Linked DNA regions of Homo sapiens: regions 1, 3 and 4 are each linked to region 2. The links are contacts of gene promoters, found by promoter capture Hi-C in blood cells and fetal thymus (Javierre and others, 2016). All regions are on one chromosome and are shown on one strand. Each heading gives the region's core, a stretch centred on a gene start or on the middle of the fragment in contact. The rest is flanking DNA. Distances are from core to core; before and after follow the strand shown. Region 1 has its middle 110 kb from the start of CDCA2. Region 2 holds the start of EBF2 (EBF transcription factor 2). Region 3 has its middle 130 kb from the start of CDCA2. Region 4 has its middle 160 kb from the start of CDCA2.

Evidence for each region. The method cuts DNA at HindIII sites, captures the fragments that hold promoters and counts their contacts. A CHiCAGO score of 5 or more calls a contact.
Region 1: a contact is called between a fragment that was not itself captured here and the fragment with the promoter of EBF2 in region 2, in 1 of 17 cell types (endothelial precursors). The highest score is 5.0, in endothelial precursors.
Region 3: a fragment that was not itself captured here is called in contact with the fragment with the promoter of EBF2 in region 2 in 1 of 17 cell types (endothelial precursors); the score reaches 5.1 in endothelial precursors.
Region 4: a fragment that was not itself captured here is called in contact with the fragment with the promoter of EBF2 in region 2 in 1 of 17 cell types (endothelial precursors); the score reaches 6.3 in endothelial precursors.

Annotation. Positions count from the first base shown.
Region 1 is chr8:25,564,111-25,570,739 of GRCh38, reverse strand. No RefSeq gene overlaps it. Among named protein-coding and RNA genes, the nearest start is that of CDCA2, 110 kb to the right of the region's middle. The HindIII fragment of the contact is 3,749 bases long and covers 2,200-5,948 here.
Region 2 is chr8:26,040,997-26,047,541 of GRCh38, reverse strand. EBF2 (EBF transcription factor 2) reads left to right here and starts at 2,129. Exons shown (of 16, transcript NM_022659.4): 1 at 2,129-2,813; 2 at 5,291-5,447; 3 at 6,540-6,545. The coding sequence starts at 2,683. RefSeq lists a silencer at 3,915-4,209. The HindIII fragment of the contact is 12,164 bases long and covers 810-6,545 here.
Region 3 is chr8:25,587,540-25,594,170 of GRCh38, reverse strand. No RefSeq gene overlaps it. Among named protein-coding and RNA genes, the nearest start is that of CDCA2, 130 kb to the right of the region's middle. The HindIII fragment of the contact is 2,279 bases long and covers 3,108-5,386 here.
Region 4 is chr8:25,611,688-25,618,019 of GRCh38, reverse strand. No RefSeq gene overlaps it. Among named protein-coding and RNA genes, the nearest start is that of CDCA2, 160 kb to the right of the region's middle. RefSeq lists an enhancer at 2,939-3,440. The HindIII fragment of the contact is 491 bases long and covers 1,998-2,488 here.

The sequences.
Region 1 (6,629 bases), core at 2,825-5,324, 480 kb after region 2:
GAAAATAATAATTCACCATGGACACCATTTTAGACTTGGATATTTTTAATTTAAAGAGTGTCATTTCAAAGGAACTCCTTCCTAAAGAAATGGACTTTAGTCCTAGTGTTTTTGTTACTATAAGCCATTAGCAACTTGGCAGGGGCGGGGACGGGAAGAGTCCTGTTGAAACACTTGTCTCTCTCCTTTTTAACCTGTGAGTTACATGAAGACCTAGTTAAAGGAAGGTGGGAGTTGGCCAGAACAGCAATGCTGTACAATTGTATAAAGCAGGGAATCATGACCTACCCACTGGGCCATCTTGTCTGCTGCCGCTCCTTTAACACGGTAGAGTAGGAACCCACTTATGCTCTTGGGTAGTGTAAATAGGCCTTTGACCCTGCACCAAAGACCTCTATCACTCACTGTTTTGAATCTGTTTCTGGTCAACTCAGTTGGCCTGAATGCAGCTCTAATGAGGCTGAGGTCATGGGTTCAATACCAGTGTGGTCTAATTACCAATAAGTCAACTGTTTCGGGGGCCTCACCTTGTACTTCTCAACCAGGCCAGTCATTTTGCATATGCCCAGCTTTGGTCACACAGGGGACAAGGTGAGAGACCAGAGATAAATCAGAACAAATCTCCCACCATACTGGGACATGCACTCAGTGTTCTGCTGTTGTCAGGTCAGTAGCAGGATTTTGGATATGAGCAACAAGACCACATTTTTATCTCGGCACCACGGCCATCAGTAATTGACATATGCTCCTCTCCATCCTGTGGAGAGGCTGCCAAATTCCCATCTCAAAGGGCTTATTATTCTAATTTAGAGGATAGAGGTTTTGAGGGGAGGGGATCTAGTGCTTTAATAGGAATGTTTTCAGTTACCACTGATGTCCAGGATAACTCAATCAGAAAATTAAATGGAGATGTAACACTCCTTTTTAATTTCATTTTTATTAGGATGTAAATAAAAACATGTTAAAGATAATTTGGAGAACAAGGAAAAGAAGAAAACATCCAGTCTCACTAACATATGTACAACTAGACATTTTTTAGATTTATTAAATGTTCATTTTAGCACATTGCACAAATAATATTCAACAAAAGGAATAAACATTTTTAGATGAAATGGAAATCGCCTACCATCTCTAACAAAGGGACTAGTTTAAATTTTCCCCCAGAAACTTCCAGTCCTGACCCACAGAAGCACCACTGCTTGAGTGACTCCTCATAAGTCCACGAAGGTGCTGGCTCACCAACCCGGTAGAAAGCCCACCATCAAACTCCACCAGGAAGCAAAAGACACCTTGGTATTCTCGATACCACTCACACTTCATGCACCAAAGAAGTTTCTAATAGCAAATATTCAGCACAAATATCATTTGGAAAACATCAAGAGGGGAAAAAAATCCTCCCTGCCTGATGTGAATTGGTGCTCCCCTTTGGAACGTACTGTAGTTTCTCATGGAAACACTTTGTGAAAAGCCAGTCGTATATCGTAGCCCCCAAATATGAGACTGCGGGTCCCTCTAACCACACAAAACAGCTGTGCCCTCGGAGGAAAGGTCATCTGCTGCGGTTGTGTTTCTTTTTACTTTTAAAGAAATGTCAGACCATGTTTTATGTGGTCCTTATGACAGGGTGCTGTTTATTGTATCACCAAGCTGCCATAACTTCAGGACAAGGAAACTGCCATTATTTGGAGAGTATATATCTTTCTGACTTACAGGAAAGATGAAAATTAAGAACGGCCCTTTTTCAGAGTGGGTATAAGTATTCCTTGACAGTCTCCTACAATATTTCAAACATCTTCGTCAGACCCATAAAACCTGATGCTTGACTCCCTTAGCCCAGATGAGGCTGTGTTGGAGTGAAGACATTTATCCCAAGCGTGGTGCCAGGCTGCCCTTGGCAGATGTTTTGAACACGGACTTTAAACCAGCTTGTTTGGTGCCCCCCAAGACACCAAGGCGTTCATCAAGAAATCACATGACATGAGGAAATAATCACGAGAGCTAAGGTTGATCATCTGTTAGCTTCTGTGCTAAGCATTGCATGTGCATTATTTCCATTTATCCTCACATCTATGAGGCAGTCACTATTAGTATCTCCATAAGATATCTGCAATTAGATATCCTTATTACAGGTAAGAAAACCAACATATAAAGAAATCAAGTAAGGCCAGGCACAGTGGCCATGCCTGTAATCCTAAAGCTTTGAAGGGCCAAGGCAGGAGGATCACTTGAGGCCAGCAGTTGGAGATCAGCCTGGAGAACATAGTGAGACACCATCTCTATAAAATTAGCTTTAAAAATTAGCTGGGCATGGGGGTGCAGGCTTTTAGTCCTAGCTGCTCAGGAGGCTGAGGCGGGAGGATTGCTTGAGCCCAGGAGTTTGAGGTTGTAGAGAGCTATGATCACGTCACTGCCCTCCAGCCGGGGCAACAGAGTGAGACTCCATCTCTAAAAAATAATAATAATTAATTAAAAATAAAAGAAAATCAAGTAACTTGCTCCAAGTTCACACTGCTGGAGAGTGAGGGTGTTAGGATTCAAGCCCACAGGGCCTCATTCAAGCAACACATGTAATCAACATGTATGAATCACGTGATGTTTCCCAGGCACTGTGGTCCCACAAAATCATAAGTGTCTTCACAGTCTTTCCATGTTGCTATTACTATCTAAATTGTCTTCAAGATGGTAAGTCCCCTCCCCACTGTAACGCAACCATGTGACAGCTTGCGTTTGAAATCAGGTCTGCATGACCTCCAACTCCATACTCCAAGGCCAAAGTTCTTGATCTGGAGAGTTTTCTAGAGATGAGAAGCAAAGGGAATGTGGAACATTTTTTAAAAATCTGCTGCAGTTCTTCATCATCTTGGGTCAGGAGGCAGCAGGGTAGTGGTGGTGGGGACATGATGATCTCACTTGCAAGTTCTGTTTAAAATCCTTATCCAGTTCTGTTTCAGTGTGTTTTCATACTCCAGGGTAGGTGAAATTCTAGAAAGTCCAAGATCTTTCCAAAAACAGTTCGGATCTGGACCATGCTTATGAGGGACCCATGATTACTAAATAAAGGTAACCCATTAGCATGGGTTAATCCAGCAGTATTTTGCCCTGGTTGTGCAGCTAGCTAGTTGTGTCACAGGGCAGTCTCGACCAGGCCTCCAGCCAACTAGAGCACTCTGGCGGGATGGGGAAACCGTGAAGTTCAGATTGAGTAGGTGAGGTGGCTGTAAACTTTCTTCTGCTTGGAGAAAAGCAAGTCACAAGGGAGGCCAACAGCCGACGTGCAAATTTAGTTTTTCTCCTCCCACTTAGTCTGCCATCCGCCCACCCCGCCATTCCCCTCTCATCCTGACCCCTCTCTTCTGTCCCCTCCTCGGCCACCCTGAGAGCCAAGTGGTGGGAGATTACTGGATAGGTGGGCTGGCTTCTAGCCCTCACTCTGACACTCACTAGCTTTGTAACTTTAGACAAATTGTTTAACCTACGTCTTTCGACCTCAATTTCTTCACTTTTTTTTTTCAGCAGATTTGTATTAAATGCCAAACCAAATGCTCATATTTCATCAGTGACATGAAGAAGTTAGGCTAAATGGATGCTTGAGTCCCTTCTAGGTTTGAAATGCCATGACTCCCCCTCTTATATGACAATGTCCGTTTCCTTTTTTTCTTACCTTTCCCCTTCCTTCTCTACTTCCTTCTTCTGTGACTTGTGTTCCAGCACACCTCTAAGTCTCTCTCTGACACGGAAGCAGAGAAAGAAAGACGAAGGGGAAAGAAATTCATGATTGTGTAGAATTTCTCTTTCTCTCTCCCTTTCTTTTTTCTGCTAACCCCATGGAGCTTTCCTTTGGCTTTTTGAGAGCATTTTCAGGGGCTAGAGACTTCTCTTCAATCATTGCTTCATTCAAGCAAGCATTTGGAGCACCCACAAGTGCCAGCATTTTGTTGGGCACGATCATGACAGTGGTTACCAAAGGGATCTGGGAAATACTGGCCCATGTTGGTTTTCAAACAGCAGTTTTTTTGGGAGAATGAAGGATCCTCTACAAAGAGTGCCTAAACCAAACACGAAGACTACCTTAAAAGGGACAGTCTCAGAAGCCCAAAGCAACAAAGCATGAAGGTTGCTGGTGGTTCTGGTTAGGCCCATTTGATTATTATAAAGGAGACTCACTCACATTAGTTTAAGCAAACGATGGAGGCAGCGGTAGAAAGGCTATACTTCTTCTATACAGAAGGCAGGATATTGTAGGTCTCCAAAATCAGGAGCTTAATAAAGTTAGGTTTCACCATGACTAGGTGGTTCTGGAATAAATTAAAACAATTATTTAAAAAACAAAAAAGAACTCCATGTCAGTCATCTATAAAAACTGTATTAGCACTTTTCTGGGTTTTAGCCTAGATAAGTACCACTGATAACCAAGAAGCAGATGGGAGTTTAAAGGTATATCAAGTGCAAGAAGACTAAGGAAGTCTTATGCTTGGGGAAGAGACTGAATATTAATTGATCATAGATGAAAATAGAACTACTCAGCTCCAGTTTATTTTTTTTCTTTCTATCTTATCTCAAGGCAATTGATCTTCATATTAGGAAAGATAATACAAACATTGTAAGAGAAAAGCCAAAGTTGGTTGTTATTGCTCTCAATGAGTTCAGATCTCCATATCTACACCAATTATACCAAAGGCCAGGCTCAGTGGCTCATGCCTGTAATCCCAACACTTGGGGAGGCCAAGACAGGTGGATCACTTGAGCCCAGGAGTTCGAGACCAGCCTGGGCAACATGGTGAAACCCTGTCTCTACAAAAAAATACAAAATAATTAGTTGGGCATGGTGGGGAGTTCCTATAGTCCCAGCTACCAGGAAAGCTGAGGTGGGAGGATCACCTGAGCCTGGGAGGTCAAGGCTGCAGTGAGCCATGATGGCACCACTGTACTCCAGTCTAGGTGACAGAATAAGATCCTGTCTCAAAAATAAATAAATAAATAAATAAATAAACCAATTATACTACCAAGGTCTTGAAGAAATAATGAAAAGTGAAATGCTACAGATACTTTCTGAACAACTGTGGAGAATGAGGGAAGTCTCTGTAGGCTGGAGAGGATTAAATATGTTCCCACTTTTCAAGAAAAGGTGAAAAAAAAAGATTCTATAAACTAAAGAGCAGTGGACTAAAGGAATGGATTGTTGATATATTTTGAAAGGAAAACAGTGATCACCAAGAGTCAGAATGGGTTAACTAAGAATAAATCATGCCAGTCTAACCTCCACTCTGCTTTTGGCACATAGAATTGCAAAACATAATAAGTTACCCCTCGGCAAGGCGTTGGACACTTTCTCATTAGATCCTTCTGGACCAGATTCAGAAATTTGAGCTCAATGCTGGTACCATTAGATACATTAGCAAGCACTTGGATGGCTCTCCTCAAAGAGTTTGATTAATAAATGACTGTCAACCTGAAGGGAGGTTTTTATATCATGCCATAGAACTATCTGTCCTTGGCCTCCTCCGTGAAACATTTGCAGTGACTTACATGAGGACAATGACGATATGTTCATTAAATCAGCGGATGACAGGAAACTAGGAGGGATAGATAACAGATTTCAGGCCTCAAATCTGCTCAAACAATCTGAGATGGGCCAACATTCATAAATTTGCAATGCAAGGATCTGCCCTAGTTCACAATGACAAATACCCCTTCAGCTCCTTGAAAGACCAGATAGGGTGAAGCCAGAAAAAACTCTCCTGAGTGATTAAAAACCAGATTTCCACCATTTTCTGTGATCAGGCCACCAGAAACAATGTGCCTTCCAGTCTCTTCTTGGCCGGTCTTGTTTTGTGGTCAGCATAACATGCACAATGCCTCTTATCTCATCCCTGGGCTCTTGTTAGGACTCGCCCCCAGAATGACTCCTCCATCCCTTGTCTTGGCACCCTGCTCCCCATGAAGAAGCTTCCAAGTCTCAACCCATAGTTACAGCCTGCAGCACTTCGCTCCCCTTCTCAGTGAGGAAGCCACAAGGCCAATTCTTTTGGTTTTGTTTGGTGATGGGGTCTCACTCTGTTGTGAGTGCAGTGGTGTGATAATAGCTCATGTAGCCTCCAACTCTTGGGCTGAAGGGATTCTCACACTTCAGCCTCCTCAGACTACAGGTGTGCACAACCACACCTGGCTAATTTTAAAAAAATTTTTTTTGTAGAGACAGTGTCGCACTAAGTTGCCCAGGCTGGTTTTGCACTCCTGGGCTCAAGCAATCCTCCCGCTTTGGCTTCCCAAAGTGCTGGGACTACAGGTATGAGCCATTGTGCCTGGTGACTGAAACCTTTAGGTGACATCAGAGATCAAGCTGAGCCTGTTGGACAGAGGATATTGCAGATTCCCACGACAAACCCAAGATGGTCACTGAGGACAGAAGCCCTCTTCAGCTCCATCAATATGCAAATTTCAAGAACTGGCCTGGCACTCAGCTTGATCTCTGTGGTCAACTAAAGGTTTCAGCAGCTGGGCATGGTGGCTTATGCCTGTGATCCCAGCTACTCAGAGGCTGAAAGGATTGCTTGAGCTGAGGAGCTGGAGACTGCAGTGAGCCATGAGTGCACCACTGCACTCCAGCCTGTGCCATAGAGCAAGATCCC
Region 2 (6,545 bases), core at 880-3,379:
GGGGCTTGGCCCAGGCCCACTGCTGACCAGAGGCCTCTCCGGGTGCCCTGCGCACCTTTCCGGGGCAACGTGGAGGTACAGCTGATCAAAGCCCCCTTGAAAAAAAAATCACCGGGCTCATAGGCATGTCTTGAAGGGCTCACGGCTGTTCCACACTCTCTGCCAAGGAACTCAAGGCTTTGGCCCCGCTGGGCGCAGACCCCAGACGAAGGGGGTGGGGGGGAGTTGCTTGAGGTTCGGAGAGATTTATAAAGAGAGACCGTAGAAGACTCCAGGTGATCAGTTTTTGCTGGGACCGAAATTCTCCGTAAAACCTGCATGTAACAGAGAATTGCCGAGTTGAAACAGGGCAGTGAATCTCATCCCTACAAATTTCCCTCCCTACCCCCTTCTTCCTTTGGACACTCCTGTCTTACTTGGCTTTTACTAGCCACCCGATCCATTTCCCAATCGCCCTGTATGGCTCTCCCGCCCCTTCCAGTCCAACAGGGAGGACCAAGCCAGAGCTCTGGGGTCGGGGTACCACAGTCAACACAACCCAGAGGCGGGGGGTTTACCTTCTCTACCTTCCCCCAAATCAATGACCCCAGTCCCTGGATCCCGGGGCCTGTGCAGAGACGGTCCGTGCACCCGCCCCGCAAACTCCCTAACCCCCTATCCGTTTTCAAGCGAATCTCCGCAGTTCGGACCAGCACTTCCTAGTCGCAATCCCGCGCACGCAGCGTGGTGCCGCGGTTTGTCCCTTGGGGAGGTGGAGGCGCGCACCGGTCCCTTTCTCGAGAGAGCCGAGTTTTCTTGAAGTGCAAGCTTCCTGTCAGCCTAGGCAAACCAGTTGCAAGGCGCTGTGTCCTCTAGCGGCAAACTCTAGCAGTTCATTTGCGAGCGCTCACCTACACCTAAGGGATCTGGTCTCTCAAATCTGAGACCCAAGAGGGGAGAAAGTGCCCTGAACGCAGTCCAGGCGCTCGCAAATGCCCTCCCCGTAATGAGACCGGGAGACTGGGGCGCAATCGCTCGAACTACGAACAGCTGATTGTCTCCTCCACGGCAGATGGTCTTTGAGCACAGATTTGCATTCATTGTCTTCAAATCTGTTTTCGCGCTGGTGTTCTAGATTTCAGCAGCAGCAGATCTATGCGCAGATCAGAATACAAAAGGAGAAGCAAGAAAATGACACCCAGCCAGGAGGATGTTTAATAGGCACCGCGAGCAGCCCCGCGCAGTTAAAAAACCGTCTAGGGTTTCAGCTGTTCGGTGAGGCTGCTGCCACCGCCTGCCGGCCACCAGCCCGCGGCCAGCACCGCGGCGACCGCGCGCGGTGGGCGAAGTTTCCACGACTCCCCCGTCCCTCCCCGCCCACTACCGGGGGCTTCGGGAACGGAGAGGTGGGGAGGGAACCGGAGGACCCGCGGGAATACTCCCCGGCCGCTCGCGCACTCAGCCCGCCTCGATCTGTCAGCAACCTCTCCTCCACACGGGTGCGACTGCCGCTCGCGCCCGCCCGCCCGCGGGTGTTTTCCTTAGGTCCTGGACCGTTTTCCCCAGCACTGTATTTGAGCAGCACTTGCCCCTCGCTTGTCCGCCCCACCCCATCCCCCGCCTTCTTTCATATGTTCTCCACTCTCAGCAACGTGCAAGCCGCACACAACATCTGATATCACCATGGAACTCCAGGAGACCTGGGGAGCCATTCAGGGAGCTGGGTGCTCTGGGGGACGTTTGCGCAAAACATAAGCACATGTGGCCACGCTCACAAGCATGCACACAGATCCGAACCCCGGGAACGAACGTGCCTCCCGGCAGGCTACAAAAGCCTACATCTAGAGGCAGGATCCAGGGAGGCTTCCCGCAGCCAGGCCGAACCCCTGCGTCCCCAGCCCGCAGAGACCTGCTACCCTAAGTCAGTGCAGGGTGTGGGGGCCCCCCAATCCTGCGCAAGCACACGGGGTTCGTGCTAGGACTCGACGCCCGCAGCTTTCTGTCCCCTTTCACCTCCCGGAGTCCCGGCAACGCAGAGCGTGGCGCGCGCCGCCGGAGGACGTCGGCCCGGCTTGCCAGGCGCCGGCCAATCCCGCGCGTCCATGCAAATGAGGCTCCTTATCGGGCCGCAGCTCCGCCTCCCGCAGCCAGGGCCGTAGTAACCCATTCATGGGGCCCGCGCGCGGCTGCAGCCGGGCTCCGTGGCGCTCGCAGCCACCGCCTCCTCTCGGCTCCAGGTCTTCCCCTTCTTTTTACAACTGATCCTGTTGGGGATTTTTTTTTTTTCTAAATTGGAACGGTGGGGAGGAGCAGGGAGGGGGGACCTGGAGGAAGGGGAGAGATTAGGCAGCCATCAATTTCCTCCAGTTTCTCCCAGAACAGGTGATGCTTCTAAATTGTGATCACTTTCAGGAGGCAGCACTGCAGCTGGAAGGATGCGAGCGACCTAGGGTGGAGTGGCTGAGGCGGCAGATCTGAACTTGCGGAGGATAAGAACCCAAACTTTGACTACATCAGTCCGCACCTCGCCAGTGAAGCAAAGGACGGGTTATCTTTTTTTTTTTTCTAAGACTCAAACTTGGGCACTTGATCCCTTTTCTTGGATTGCTTTGGAGGAGACGATTTGCTGGCAACGTTGGGAACAGTCAGGACTGTGTTGTAACTCTTACTTTTAAAGCGACAGTAGAGGATCAGACTTTTTAAATGTTTGGAATTCAAGATACTTTAGGAAGAGGACCAACTCTGAAAGAGAAATCGCTGGGCGCGGAGATGGATTCGGTCAGGTCCTGGGTCCGGAATGTCGGAGTGGTGGACGCTAATGTCGCCGCGCAGAGGTAACGACACGGCCGCGCAATTATTATGCTGTCTCTCGCTCTTACGGTCTGTCTCTCCGTGTGCACCCCCCCCGCGCACCCCGTGCCTTTCTCTCTCCCTGTCCCCCCATCTGTCGCCCAGGCCCTGCGCGCTGGGGCTCGCCCTCGGGCAAGCAGATCGCTGCAGTCAGGCGAACGCTCACCCGGCAGCCGGCACTCGAGTTCCTGAACTGCCTGGGTCGTAGGCGTTTCTCTCCCTCTCCTTTACCACAGTCCACTCTTTGCAAGGAAAAATAAAGTAGCCCCCAACATCTCCCAGCTCAGCCCCTAGTCCTGCAAGCCGAGCCGGCCTGGCCCCGAACGGAGCGTGAACACCGGCGCTGGCAGTGGCGGCGCGGGAGGAAAGCCGGCTTCCTGGCCACTCTTGGCTTCGCCACGCCGCCTGCGAGCGCCTACCTCCCGCATCTTGCTGGGCGATTCCTGGAGCCTGGGAGGCCGGCGGCCAGAGGGTGGCGGCGGCGAGGGGAGCGGGAAAAGCCGGAGCGGCTGCCCGGGAAGACGAGGCGGCCGGGAGCTCTGGGAGGGGGGACAGGCTGGAGGGTCCCGGCTCAAAGATAAAACAGTGAGCCAGACGAACGGAGCTAGGGAACTGGAGAAAAGAAGAGATTTAAAAGAAGAGAAAATACTGAGTCACAGTAGAAAGAGTTGCGGAAGAAGAAAGAGGCGAGAAAAGGCCACCAGCAGCTAGACTGGCTCAGGGATCGCCAGCCTCTGGTTTTGCGGATCCCTGAAGTTGACTTTGTGTTTAGGCGTCTGCGTGCTGGGATAGTAAATACCATGTCCGGGGTGCCACCCTACGAAGACATTACGGTCCCACTCTCTCATCACCACTACTGAGTTGGGATTTGTGGCCTCCAGGTCCTTGTCTGCGAGAGAGGCAGCCCTTCTACCCCCAAAGAGCCGATGAACTTCTTCCACTACCCTCGCTTCCCCTGCTGCCCTCCTGGCCACCCACATTTAAGTGCCAACATCACACGGAGAAATGATCCCTTTCCCAAACTGGCCAGGTGTCCCGGGTAGAGCGAACCGGCCTCTACCCTTGGAGCGGAGAAAGCAGAAGTTTTATCGCTCCGGGACTTGGGCCGGCGGCGGTTCCCTCCCTCCTGTGGCCCGGGGAGCGCGGATTTCCCTCCGGCAGACCGCACAGCGCGGCGGCCGCGGCTTTCCGCAGCGCTTCGGGACTGGCCCGCCTGCGAGCTAAGGGAAATAAGGCAGCACCGCAGAGCCAACTGTGCCGCGCATTTCCTTAGCTGGGCTCCTTAAAGACGCCTCCCTCGCTTTCCTTCCTTCCCGGGATCAAAAAGTTTGTTGAAGCTGGAAGGAGCAGACTTAGTGGGGGAGAGCTTAGCCAAAATGTTACCCCTTTCAAAAGAGTGAATGAAGGTGCTTGCGCACCGGGGTTCAACCTGGGAGACCCCAGCGCCGCAGGGCAGCTCCCGCAATCTGTGCGTTCACCTCAGCCCCAAGTCTTCGGTGAAATGGGATCTGATGGCCAGGTGGGCTGTGACTGCGACCGGTTGGCTGGGAAGCGTGTGCACACACTCAGCACGCTCGAGGGCGCCTTCCGGGTCCCCCAACTTGGGTTTCACAGTCACTGGGTTCGGCTGGCGCCGCCAGAAAACGCAGCATGAGTGGGGATCGCGTTGGCCCCAGGAAAGGAGGTTCTCGCCTTTTAACAGTTTGGCTTTTCCCCACCTAGCACCTCTGGGAGGGAGGGCCCCCTATGTCGGTCATCTCATTTGTGGTGGCCAGCGATCCCCGGGGCTGGTCGCGAGGATTCCGCCCTGTCTCTGTCCCAGGCACAACTTTTCGGAAGAGCGAGGCAAGCAGCCCAAGGACCCAGACCTGGACTCTGTGTTACTCTCCCGCCTGCCCCTTGGGGTTCTTACCCACTACCTTTCCCAGTCAGCATTTGGGCGTTGTGAGCAGTGGGTCCAGGACTGATAACTCGAATTAATACTAAATAAAAGGGTCGCTTCTTCCAAAGCAAAGGAGGCACTTATTCCCCTAACCCTGGGCCCCAGCTCTGCATCCTGATACACCCAGCAGTACCACCTGAGGGAGTGGATGGAGACAGCCCCACGGTATAGGACGCGGGCCACCTCCTTAGGGGACCACTCTGGGCCTCTGTCTGCAGCCGGGGTCTTTCGGTTTCGACTAAAGACGGGATGGTGAGTGGCCCAGCGGTGGGATGCCGGACCACTTGGTGGTGTCAGAGACCCCAGGTATCAACCCTGCCACCCAACCCCCGTGGCCACGGTGACTCCTTTAAGGAGTCTCCTCTTCCTTATCCGAATTGGAAAAAAGGCCCGAAGGGTTCAGAACTCTGGACCTGGGAAGTGGACCCCTTACCCCTCTGCAGTGTTGTGGGCGGTTAGTAACATCGCCTTTTTGTGCTTCCCCGTGTCTTGTGTTCCCCCGTTTTTCTCCCTGTGCAGCGGGGTCGCCCTGTCCCGGGCCCACTTTGAGAAACAGCCTCCTTCCAACTTGAGGAAATCCAACTTCTTTCACTTCGTCCTGGCGCTCTATGACAGGCAGGGCCAGCCGGTGGAGATCGAGCGGACGGCCTTCGTGGACTTTGTGGAGAATGACAAAGTAAGCGGAAAGTACCCCCCAAACCCCGCGGCCTAATAACTCCCTCTTGCGAAGCACTAAAGATTCCATCTGTCACTCTCGCGACACTTTTCCACTCTCACCATCAGGGATGATAAATCGAGGCTACTCACCCCCAGCCTCTAAATCAGTCGATTTCCCGAACCTCCTCCCACCCCGACTCCCCCAACCTGGAGCTGGAGGAGCGCTCCCGGCTCTGCGCACCGAGCCTGGAGGCCTTAGTAGCGCCTGGTTATGGACTGACGGCGGAGCAAACGCCCCTTGGACTAGTTAAAAAGTACACCCAAGGCCGCCGCTCCCCTTCTCTGGGTTAATTTTAATTATTTTGCACCTGCGAGAGCCAGGTGGCCTGAGTTGCGGCACTAAGTGGAAACCGGCAGCCCAGCCTTGGCCTGCCTTCTGGCCGTGTCTTCTCTCCTGTTCTGTTCTCCAAGGCAGCGCCTCCTCCAAACTCAAGCCTGGAATTGGGGGCTGGGTTCGGTCTCAAATGAAGGACAGTCCGCCGAAACCTATGTGTGACCAAAGGAAAATCCCTTGCCCTTTCCGGGTCTCCGTGTCCCCAGCTGTACAATGTGAGCTTTAGAGTAGGCACTTCCCAAAGTCCCTCCTGAACCTGGAACTCAGTCCCTGAGCTCGTGGCCCTGCGTGCGCAGTCCTCGCGGGATAGGCCCGAATGCTGCCTTTCCAAATGACAAGTCCCTTCACTTTTCTGCCAAGGGAAGCCTTGGGGCTTCCTAAGGACAGACAGAGCCCGATGGGTTGGGTGGTGCCTGTTTAAAGGCAGCTTTGGCAAGTGGTCCTGTTGTCGGAAGCTCAAGGGTCACACTTCTGAGGACATTTTTAAGGGAGACAGAGGGCTGGAAAGGGTCAAGTGGCTACGAGTCTTGGCAAGTTTCCGGGGGCGGCCAAGGACAGGCAGATGCTCATGCCCTTTGACCTAGGGCTGAACAGGGGGTTACTCAAAGCTGCCTTTTGATGGGGAGAAGGGATGTGAGGTGGGGATTCACTGTCTCCTCTTTCCCTCATTTTGGGGGGCTGAAAGGCAAGGGAATCGAACGCTGCCTGTCTTTTCAGGAACAA
Region 3 (6,631 bases), core at 2,998-5,497, 460 kb after region 2:
ACTTCGTAGGGTCTGTAATAAAATTGCTATTGATTCTGTCTGACAAACGGTTAAGAGAAAAAATGTTGGCAGATGCAGTGGCTCACGCCTATAATCCCAGCACTTTGGGAGGTTGAGGCAGGAGGGTCACTTGAGACCAGGAGTTCAGTATCAGCCTGGGCAACATAGCGAGACCCCGTCTCTGCAAAAAATTAACAAATTAGCCAAGTAGTGGCGTGTCCCTGTAACCCCAGCTACATGGGAGTCTGAGGCAGAAGGATCACTTGAGCTCAGGAGTTGGGAGCTGCAGTGAGCTATGACTACACCACTGAACTTCAGCCTGGGTAACACAGTGAAGAAAAAAAAAAATAATAAATAAATAAATAAATAAATATATATATATATATATATATATATATATATATATACCCCTCTGATTAGAAAAGGCAAAGCACCCAGCTCTGTTTTCTGCCTCACCCCACAGTTGCCAGGCTGAGTAGAAAGCTGTGGACAAAAGTGGGTGGCCATGGAGAGCTGAACCTTGGCTTTAGGAGTCTCTGACAGGAGATCTGCCTCTTCTCAAAGGGAAAAACTGCCTGTAGAACAAGGCCCAATTCTCCCTGAGGTACCTAGGCATCTTCCCAGCGGGCTGAAGATGCCCCACTCTTCAGGTGTGGTCCTGTATCTAAGGTCTCGCCAGAAATGACCTGACAGAAGATGGAAGCTCTGTGAGACAGGGAGGGAAAGAACCGCAGTGGGAGCACCAGGATCAAATCCCAAGACCCACAGCTTTCCAGAAGTCAGTCCATTGCTCATCCCAATCATGGAAGGGCTCACATGCAAAAAACATGCACAATTTACATACCTCTCACCAAAGAGCAGTGACTCCAGAGCAGACACCTGCAAAGCAAGAGTATCTTTTTTGGGGGTACTTCCCTTTATCTAAAGGAATGCAAAAATGCCTCCTTCTACCTCCTGTCTTCCCAATCCTTTCTGTTTCATTCTCCTTTTTTTCCTTTCTTCTTTCAGTCTTCTTCCAACTCCCCTCTAAGATTTGAGCTTCAGAAAACAGGAGAGGATTCTGATAAGGTTTGGGAAGAAAACTCTTCCAATTTCTGGTCCTGGCCGTGGAGCCCGAAGGATTTTTGAGGCATTAAGTAATTGACCTCTCACCACCTCCGAGTGTTAAGGGACACGTGCTACTGTTATCTCCCATTTTATAGTCAGCACAACAGAGGCAAACCGAGGTTTAGAGACTTGCCCCACATACCAGGGTCAATAAACAAGCAAGAAACACATGCTCCCTTCTGTACTCACTACTCACTTCCAATAGCCTCATTTATTGTCAAATGCATGCTTGTTTGGTTAGTTTTAATCCCCATGCTATTAACATGGGAGCCTGGAACATGTTGGCTTCTTAACAGCTCCCAGAACCACAATCATTTAGGTTGGAAAGTAAACAGAATCTTATCCGTATGAGGGTAGATGGGAGGTCAGTGGAAAGGGAGGCTGCTGCTGTGGACGGCCAACAAGGCGGGCTGGCTGCACCAGCTCTCACTGATCAGGCCGCACAACTCAGTGTGGGGCTCTGGTCTGAGATGTGCTCACTGATCTTTCCATTGTCTCCATTGTCCGGATCAGCTCCAGGTACCAGTGATAGCAGATCCAGGAACCAGGTATCAGATCCTAAGGCTGTATCTGATCATTTTTGCCATTGGACAAACTCCCCTAAGCCTCTCCTTAAATACCTATCTCCTATAATCCAAATTTTGGCTAATGCTAATGTCTAATTCAGAAAATACTGCAGCCAAAAGAAGATAAGATTTGGAGTCAGGCTGCTCTGTCCTCCTCTTGCTGCAGCTTTGCAGCCAATGGGCAAGTCACAGGACTCTCTAGGACTCCCTTCCCTGTCTGTCCTGGGGACAGATGACACCCAGCACCAGGGAGTGCTTGCTGGGATAAGGTCTAGAAAGCATATTCTGATGCCTACCATACGTCAGCACGGGATAGGGACTGAAGTTCCTTTTATCCCCATTTAGTTAAATAATTAAGAGTGCAGGCCAGACACGGTGGCTCACGCCTGTAATCCCAGCACTTTGGGAGGCTGAGGCGAGCAGATCACCTGAGGTCAGGAGTTTGAGACCAGCCTGGCCAACACGGTGAAACCTTGTCTCTACTAAAAATAGAAAAATTAGCCAGGTATGGTGGTGGGCGCCTGTAGCACCAGCTACTTGGGAGGCTGAGGCAGGAGAATCACCTGAACCCAGGAGGTGGAGGTTGCAGTGAGCCAAGATCTCGCTACTGCACTCCAGCCTCGGGGATGACAAGAGCAAAACTCGGTCTCAAAAAAAAAAAGTGCAAATTTGATGATTTCATTAGTTTTATCCAATGTCACTGTTACTTTATTCTGTACCTGTCATTAACCACTGAGAAACAGTATTCTGCAGAAAAATAAAATTACAAAAAAGGAAGGAAGGAAAGAGGGAGAGAAAAAGGAATGAAGGAAGGAAGGGAAGAAGGAAGGGAGGGAGGGAGAAAAGGAAGGAAAGAGAGAAAGAAGGAAGGAAAGGAAGAGAAGGGACTGAAGAGGAAGCAAGGGAAGGGAAGAGAGAAAGAGGGAAGAGGAGGAGAAGAAGAGGAGGAAAGCAGACAGGTAGCTGCCAACAAGTGCTGTCTCCAGCAGCACTGCATTGCTAGAAATGGGTAGGGGGTGAGAGAATCTGGACTGAAATCTTGTTTGCTAACACATGCTACCTTGGCGACCCTGGACAAGTTACTTAACCTCTCTCCAACTTTCTTACCTCTTAAATATGCTTATAATAAGAAAGCCTAGCTCATGAGATTATTTTGAGGATTCAATGTAATCATAGCCCTGAAGGTGTCTAGCATGGTATCTGGCACTTGACAAACACAAAACAAGAAAAAAAGAAAAGAAAATGCTGATTGAATTTACTTGTCAATTCTAAGACATTCACAGAAACCATCCTAGGGAGGGTAACTCAGTTTCCACACCCGAAATAATCAGAACAGCCTTCCAAGCTCAGAGTGTACAGTGTGGTGTGTCCTAGAGGGACAAGAGAACTTCACTGTATAGTTACAATATTAAGTTGTTCTTATTAAAATAAGCTTGCCTGACTGCATGGGGACAGAAAGAAATTCAATCCATCTACAGTGGGGCAAGAAGCAATCATTCTGTTCCTCAGCACACAACAATAAATAATTCAGCGAGAAGGACACACTAGTATCCTTCCAATTTTTCTTCTTCTAGTCATGAATCCTGTTTATGTTTTCTGGAACCATAAATGGAATATAATTTTACAAACTGAGGGAGAAACGAAGCATGCTAGAAATGTAGGGACATTCTGACATATGTTTCCCTATCACCAGTCCTTGGTGACATTTTCCTTGATTTGAACTCCTTTAGCATTGGGTTTACAATCTGTATGACACTGTTAGTGACTGGAGTATCAGACACCTTGGAGGGATTTCTCTTTTCACTTCAAAGTTGTTCTCTCAGCAATAATAAGAGTTAATGTTTATCGTGCACTCACTCTGTGCGAGGCATCATTTTATCATTTAATTTTCACAAAGGTCCTCTATGTTGTCCTTTAAGTAAGTAACGACTGGGGCCCAGAAAGGTTAAGTAGCTTGTCCAGTGTCACACTGTTAATAGGTGGCACAGCTAAGATTTGAACCTGACACATACTCTTCATGAGTCATGGTGCATATTACCAGGATGTAAGTTTCTTGAGGGCCAAGGGCTCATCTTCCTCCAAATTTGCTTTCCCCTACCTCCTAGAAAAACTCCTGAGAATTAGGAGAGGTTTGAACAGATGATTGGTAAACTGAATTCAATAAAGGCATTCACAGGCTTCCACTAGAAGACTTCAGCATCCATCCTTTACCCTTGAAGACCACCACATGCAACCACACTGACCATGCCCTGCACAACCCCAGGGGTACCTTTCACAGAGACTACAATACCAAGGGACTACAATACTAAGCCAGGCCATTTGCCTCTTGCCAACCCAAATCCATATCATTTCCCAAGCCCTTTTCAGTGCACGGCAGCCCAGACTTACTCCATGCCAAATAGAAACAGTCAGACTCCTGGAAATAAGTAAGCAGCCAAGTTGTATATTTCAATGTCCAGTGCCTAGAAGACGTTTAGGGAACATGTGATATAATAGAAAAGGAAAAGGGAAGTACTGTCTATTTCTCATTTTCTACAGTAGAAAATGAGTTTGGAGTGTGATAGGAAATGTTTATAGCCTATGCTTTCTCCTGTCATCAAAAATAAACTCTGTGCTGATCAAGAACACGGGATCATAGATCAACTTTTATTCAGGTCACACTTATCTAAATAGGTCATCATCCTTGGCACCAGTACAAGTGAGAGCTTTAAATGGGGATGGCAACTACACAACCTACATTGGTCTGCAGTGATCTGCCAGCACCATTGCAGCAGAGAGACGTAGGAAAAGTAGGTGCAGTTGGATGAGATCATGTTGCACCTGTGGTCAGAGCCTCCTTGGAATAACACAATTCTGTGGATCAAGATGAACCCAAGAGTGGGACCGTCAGATTGTAGGCAGTACCCACAGATTCATATGGTAGGAAAAGTATCATGTCGGTTTCCTTCTAATCATTCTGATTAAATCAATGAGAGAATCAGCCTTTGCAACCTCTCCACCATTTGCTAATCATCCTTTTTAACAAAAAGAGGGCATGACTCAACATTAGAGCCTTCAGCAAACAAGTGAATCTAGATAGAATTTAATAACACTGTTTGCATGTTTTAATCATTACCTTCCCTGTTGGCCAATGATATTGGTTTTCCATTTACAGTAATCATATAAAGTTTTAAAACAAATGTATTCAAGTTTAAGAAACCAATTAGGTGATCTAAAGAAAAAAACATAACATTGAGTACAGTCTGGATATGGCTATGGCAAAATTTGTGAAAGTGACAAATTAATGAATAAAGATTGGACATCAGCCTGGTGCAGTGGCTCATGCCTGTAATCTCAGCATTGTGGGAGGCTGAGGCGGGTGGATTGCCTGAGCTCAGGAGTTTGAGACCAGTTTGGGCAACATGGCGAAACCCCATCACTACTAAAATAAAAAAGTTAGCCAGGCGTGTTGGTACACACCTGTAATCCCAGCTACTGGGGAGGCTGAGGCACAAGAACTGCTTGAGCCTGGGAGGTAGAGGTTGCAATGAGCCGAGATCGCTCTACTGCACTCTGACCTGGGTGACAGAGCAAGACTCCATCTCCAAAAAATAATAAACAAATAAAGATTGGGCACCACAGCTAATGTGAAGATGGACAGAAGTTAATACAGGTGACCCAAGTTGCTCGAGAGAGTGGAGGAGGAGGTAGTCAGGGAAGCTAGAGAGAAAGCTTAAAGAATTAGTGAAGGAAACAAATATCCTTGTCCTCCCAAAACTAAAATGTGGATGCCTGGGGTCTGAGCTCCTGGCCAAGTGATTGCAGGAGGGAAAAACCACAGAACATGGGTGCTACCTGCAACCCCCACAGGGGGACAGTAGCCTCCAATGCCCAAAGAGATGGCAAGGAAATGGGGGCAAGACGAAATGTCTGGATAAACATAAAAACACCAAGCCTGGCTTTCAGACAAGCACTGTGTGAAGGCAATAAACACATAGAGGAAAAGCCCTGGGGCACTGTGGAGAGAGCACTGAATTGGGAGTCGAGATACCTAGTTTTAGTTCCAACTCTGCTGTCTCTGCATGGCCCAAAACAAAGACTCTTTCTTGCCTTCAATTTCCTCACCTGTAACACACCCTTTCCTGGGACTACATTCTTTGCCTCTATATTCTTTAATAAGTACATTAGCGCAATTTCCAATTTGGTATTATGCGGATACAATTTAAAGGAGACAATATATTTGCTGCAAGAATACCAACCTCCCCCTGATGCAAGTGTGCACACACACATGCACACACACACAAATTGCATTTAGAATTATAATCATTTGACTGTTAATATAATCACCAGCAAATGTTGGTCATAAATATTAAGTGCTAACGGGGTCAGATTCCCTGGTGGATGTTGAGGAATGTGCCTGGTGGGTGGTGGAGGGGAGCTACTTTTCCAGAGAAGTACGAGGGAATTAACCACCAGTCTGTACCTCCGTGGCCTTGCAAACAACACCAACACTCTCTTTCTGTCTAACTCTACAACTGGAATTTGCCCAGCCTTTTGGGAAACGTACTTCGACTTTGAATGTTGGAAATTGTCTGTGGTACAAATCACAGCTCTTCTCTCTTGAGAATTAACAAAGCAAAAAGGCAAAGAGTGGATTTTCGTCTTGGTAAACTGAGGTTCAGAGATTGTTTTTATGGGACTCACCCAGAAAAAGGTCTCCCTCTCTTTATTGCCCACTGAAGGGCTATTGCATAGCCAGAGATGTTGAAATGGCACACTGAAAAGGGAGCAACATAAACATAAAATCAAACTACTGCAAATATCTACTGAGCATCTACTATCATTTGTGCACAGAAGGATAAAACATGGTTCCTGTCTGAAGATGCCTGTGATCTAGCTAGAGTAAAGGCCAATACACATAGAACAAAGAAGGGAGAAGACAGCATACAATTGAGCACAAAAGTAGGTGATTTCCATTT
Region 4 (6,332 bases), core at 994-3,493, 430 kb after region 2:
TGCTCTGTTGCCCAGGCTGGAGTGCAGTGCTGTGATCTTGGGTCACTGCAACCTCCGCCTCCTGGGTTCAAGCAATTTTCCCACCTCAACCTCTTGAGTAGCTAGGATTACAGGCATGTGCCACCATGCCTGGCTAATTTTTTAATTTTTAGTAGAGATGGGGTTTTGCCATGTTGGCCAGGCTGGTCTCAAACTCCTGACTTCAAGTGATCCACCTACCTTCGTATCCCAAAGTGCTAGGATTACAGGCGTGAGCCACCATACCCAGCTGAATCCTGTTTTTTAAAACCAAATTTTCGAATATATCTTTGACCGGGGAATTTAATCCATTTACATTCAAAGTAATTGTCTATATGGAAGGACTTACCATTGCCATTTTGTTAATTGTTTTCCATATGTCTTACAGCTTTTTGTTCTTTTTCTCTCTTATTGCTTTCCTTTTATGTTTTGTTGATTTTTCTGTATTGGCATGCTTTGATTTCCTTCTCATTTCCTTTTGTGTATATTCTATAAATTTTTTTTATAGTTACCACTGTAATAACATATAACATCTTAGAGTTATAACACTCTATTTTAAACTAATAAATTAATTTCAATGTCATACAAAAACTCTAGTACTACATGCTCAATCTCCCACTTGTTATTGCTATCATAAATTACCTCTTCATAGGTTGTATACCGATTAACATAGATTTATAGTTTTTTAATGTTTTGTAATTTAAATTCTATACAATAATTAAAAGTGAAGGTGTGCAATAAAATTACAGTAATAAAGTTTACTATGTCTATGAATTTACCTTTATCAGAGAACTTTATATTTTTTAGTGGCTTTGTGCTACTGTCTACCATCCTTTCCCTTCACCTTGAGGAACTTCCCATTAGCATTTCTTGCCAAGCAGATCTAGTGATAATGAACTCCCTTTGTTTTTGTTCACCTGAATAAATCTTAATTTCTTTTTTAGTTTTAAAGAACAGTTTGCTGGACACGATATTCTCAGTTGACAGGTTTATTGGAGTGTATTTTTGCTTTTCCTTTTTTCTTTCAGCACCCTGAGTATAACATCCTACTTCCTCTAGCCGTCAAAGTTTCTGCTGAGAAATTCACTAGTAATCTTATCAAAGTTCTCTTTGATGTGATGGGTTGCTTTTCTTTTGCTGGTTTCAAGATTGTCTCTTTGTCTTTGATGTTTCACAGTTTGATTATATCTAGGTGTGGGTCTTTTGGGATTTATCCTTGTTGGAATCTTTGAGCTTCTTAAATTTGTATGTCCATTTTATCCTTCAATTTGGGAGACATTTGGCCATTATTTCTTCAGCTAAGAGCTCTGGCCTTTTCTTTCTCTTCTCCTTCTGGAAATTCTGTAATAAGTATATTGAGCTGCTTGATACTTCCCCATAAGTTCCTTGGGTTCTCTTCACTTTCTTCATTCTTTTTACTTTTTGTTCCTCTAACTTGAGGATTTCAAATAACCTGTCTTCAAGTTCAGTGATTTCTTCTTCTGCGTTATCAAGTCTGTTGTTGAACCTTTTTGGTGATATTCTGAGGTCACTTATTATGGTTTTTAGCACCAGAATTTCTGTTTGGTGTTCTTAAAATAGTTTCTCTTTGTTGATAGTCTCAATTTATACATGTGTCATTTACTGGATTTCATTTAGTCATCTATCTGTATTCTCTTTTAGCTCATTGAGCATATTTATGACAGTTATTTTAAATTCTTTGTCAGCAAGCCCATATGTTTTCATTTCTTTAGGGTTGGCTTCTGAAGTTTTGTTTTGGCCCTCTGATTGGACCATAAATCTTTGTTTCTTTGTGTGCCTTGTGATTTTTGTTGTGCTGATGATGCTGTTAAGACATGGACATTCAAAACAACAACCACTTTTCATAAACTTTATGGTCTGGCTTCACGCAAAAGACTTCACTGATCAGCGCAGCTAGAGTCTATTTTAGGATCTTTCAAACTCTGAGAATGTGTCTTCTCTGGGCATGTACATAAGCTTTTTAGTCCTGTGAAATTCCCATTGCAGCTTGTCCTTGCTTCTTTTCAGAAGCCTGAAATCTCTTGCTCCCTCTGGCACCTGCCTGTGGAACTGCAGCTCAAATGTGCCACTATTATTGAACCTGTTTTCAGCAGCTTGCAAACAAGGTCACAAACTCAATCAGCCCTCTGAGCCAATTGAGATGGATACCAATTCTTGAGGCAGCTCCCAGACTAGCCAGACTGCTGTACACATGGTCCTTTCCTTCGTTTTCATTCAAAGAGAGGATCCCTGGCATGGGAAGTTTCCTTCCAGTTGTGTTGCATTAGGTCAAATGGGGGCAGAGCACAGATGAGCATACAAAGTGCTATGAACTTCCTTAACCCTTTATCTGAAATCCCTTCCTGTTGTATGTAGCTCAGGGTGCTTAGACTTCTCAAGTAGTCTCCAGAGTTCTCACAAAAATATTTTGGCCCACATATTTTTACTAACTTCTTGTCTCTGTGAAGCTTCCTAGTCTGCATCTCTAAATGTGTGTTATTTTAATAGTAAGAATAAACTATTAGAGGTTCCAAGATGGCCGAATAGGGACAGCTCCAGTATGCAGCTCCCAGTGTGAGTGATGCAGAAGATGGGTGATTTCTGCATTTCCAACTGAGGTACCAGGTTCATCTCACTGGGGCTTGTCAGACAGTGGGTGCAGCCCATGGAGCAGGGTGGGGCATTGCCTCACCCAGGAAGCACAAGAGGTCAGGGAATTCCCTTTCCTAGCAAAGGGAAGCCGTGACAGACACCACCTGGAAAATCGGGGAACTCCCACCCTAATACTGCGCTTTTCCAATGGCCTTAGCAAATGGCACACTGGGAGATTATATCCCACACCTGGCTCAGAGGGGCCCATGCCCACGGAGCCTCACTCACTGCTAGCACAGCAGTCTGAGATCAAACTGCAAGGTGGCAGCGAGGCTCGGGGAGGGGTGTCCGCCATTGCTGAGGCTTGAGTAGGTAAACAAAGCAGCCCATAAGCTCGAACTGGGTGGAGCCCACTGCAGCTCAAGGAGGTCTGCCTGCATCTGTAGACTCCACCTCTGGGGGCAGGGCACAGCTAAACAAAAGGCAGCAGAAACTTCTGCAGACTTAAACGTCCCTGTCTGGCAGGTTTGAAGAGAGCAGTGGTTCTCCCAGCACGGAGTTTGAGATCTGTGAGCAGACAGACTGCCTCCTGAAGTGGATCGCTGACCCCTGAGTAGCCTAACTTGGAGACACCTCCCAGTAGGGGCCGACTGACACCTCATACAGCTGGGTGCCCCACTGAGATAAAGCTTCCAAAGAAAGGATCAGGCAGCAGCATCTGCCCTTCTGCAATATTTGCTGTTCTGCAGCCTCCGCTGGTGACACTCAGGCAAACAGGGTCTGGAGTGGACCTCCAGCAAACACCAACAGACCTGCAGCTGAGGATCCTGACTGTTAGAAGGAAAACTAACAAACAGAAAGGACATCCACACCAAAACCCCATCTGGGTGTCACCATCATCAAAGACCAAAGGAAGATAAAACCACAAATATGGGGAGAAACCAGAGTAGAAAAGCTGAAAATTCTAAAAATCAGGGCACCTCTTCTCCTCCAAAGGAATGCAGCTCCTCGCCAGCAGTGGAACAAAGCTGGATGGAGAATGACTTTGAGCAGCTGAGAGAAGAAAGCTTCAGACAATCACTAATAAGAAACTTCTCTGAGCTAAAGGAGGATGTTCAAACCCATCGCAAAGAAGCTAAAAACCTTGAAAAAAGATTAGACGGATGGCTAACTGGAATAAACAGTGTAGAGAAGTCCTTAAATGACCTTATGGAGCTGAAAACCATGGCACGAGAACTAAGTGATGCATGCACAAGCTTCAATAGCTGACTTGATCAAGTGGAAGAAAGGGTATCAGTGATTGAAGATCAAATGAATGAAATGCAGCGAGAAGAGAAGTTTAGAGAAAAAAGACTAAAAAGAAACGAACAAAGACTCCAAGAAATATGGGACTATGTGAAAAGACCAAATCTACGTCTGATTGATGTACCTGAAAGTGATGGAGAGAATGGAACCAAGTTGGCAAACACTCTTCAGGATATTATCCAGGAGAACTTCCCCATCCTAGTGAGGCAGGCCAACATTCAAATTCAGGAAACACAGAGAATGCCACAAAGATACTCCTTGAGAAGAGCAACTCCAAGACACATAATTGTCAGATTCACCAAAGTTGAAATGGAGGAAAAAATGTTAAGGGCAGCCAGAGAGAAAGGTTGGTTACCTGCAAACAGAAGCTCATCAGACTAACAGCAGATCTCTTGGCAGAAACTCTACAAGCCAGTAGAGAGTGGGGGCCAATATTCAACATTCTTAAAGGAAAGAATTTTCAACACAGAATTTCATATCCAGCCAAATTAACCTTCATAAGTGAAGGAGAAATAAAATCCTTTATAGACAAACAAATGCTGAGAGATTTTGTCACCACCAGGCCTGCCCTAAAAGAGCTCCTGAAGGAAGCACTAAACATGGAAAGGAACAACCAGTACCAGCCACTGCAAAAATATGCCAAATTGTAAAGATCATTGAGGCTAGGAAGAAACCGCATCAACTAACGAGCAAAATAACCAGCTAACATCATAATGACAGGATCAAATTCACACATAACAATATTAACCTTAAATGTAAATGGGCTAAATCCTCCGATTAAAAGACACAGACTGGCAAATTGGATAAAGAGTCAAGACCTATCAGTGTGCTGTATTCAGGAGACCCATCTCACATGCAGAGACACACATAGTTTCAAAATAAAGGGATGGAGGAAGATCTACAAAGCAAATGGAAAAGAAAAAAAAAAGCAGGGGTTGCAATCCTAGTCTCTGATAAAACAGACTTTAAACCAACAAAGAACAAAGAGACAAAGAAGGCCATTACATAATGGTAAAGGGATTGATTCAACAAGGAGAGCTAACTATCCTAAATATATATGCACCCAATACAGGAGCACCCAGATTCAAAAACCAAGTCCTTAGAGACCTACAAAGAGACTTAGATGCCCACACAATAATAATGTGTGGGTTTAACACCCCACTGTCAACATTAGACAGATCAACGAGACAGAAAGTTAACAAGGATATCCAGGAATTGAACTCAGCTCTGCACCAAGTGGACCTAATAGACATCTACAGAACTCTCCACCCCAAATCAACAGAATATACATTCTTCTCAGCACCACATCACACCTATTCCAAAATTGACCACATAGTTGGAAGTAAAGCACTCCTCAGCAAATGTAAAAGAACAGAAATCATAACAAACTGTTTCTCAGACCGCAGTGCAATCAAACTAGAACTCAGGATTAAGAAACTCACTCACAACCACTCAACTACATAGAACTGAACAACTCGCTCCTGAATGACTGCTGGGTACATAACGAAATGAAGGCAGAAATAAAGATGTTCTTTGAAACCAACAAGAACAAAGACACAACATACCAGAATCTCTGGGACACATTTAAAGCAGTGTGTAGAGGGAAATTTATAGCACTAAATGCCCACAAGAGAAAGCAGGAAAGGTCTAAAATTGACACCCTAACATCACAATGAAAAGAACTAGAGAAGCAAGAGCAAACACATTCAAAAGCTAGCAGAAGCCAAGAAATAACTAAGATCAGAGCAGAACTGAAGGAGATAGAGACACAAAAAACCCTTCAAAAAATCTATGAATCCAGGAGCTGTTTTTTTGAAAAGATCAACAAAATTGATACACTGCTAGCAAGACTAATAAAGAAGAAGAGAGAGAAGAATCAAATAGATGCAATAAAAAATGATAAAGGGGATATCACCACCGATCCCACGGAAATACAAACTACCATCAGAGAATACTATAAACACCTCTATGCAAATAAACTAGAAAATCTAGAAGAAATGGATAAATTCCTGGATGCATACACCCTCCCAAAACTAAACCAGGAATAGACCAATAACAGGTTCTGAAATTGAGGCAATAATTAATAGCCTACCAACCAAAAACTGTCCAGGACCAGGCAGATTTACAGTTGAATTCTACCACAGGTACAAAGAGGAGCTGGTACCATTCCTTCTGAAACTATTCCAATCAATAGAAAAAGAGGGAATCCTCCCTAATTTACTTTCTGAGGCCAACATCATCCTGATACCAAAGCCTGGCAGAGACACAACAAAAAAAGAGAATTTTAGACCAATATCCCTGATGAACATCGATGCAAAAATCCTCAATACTGGCAAACCGAATCCAGCAGCACATCAAAAAGCTTATCCACCACGATAAAGTTGGCTTCATCCCTGGGATGCAAGGCTGGTTCAACA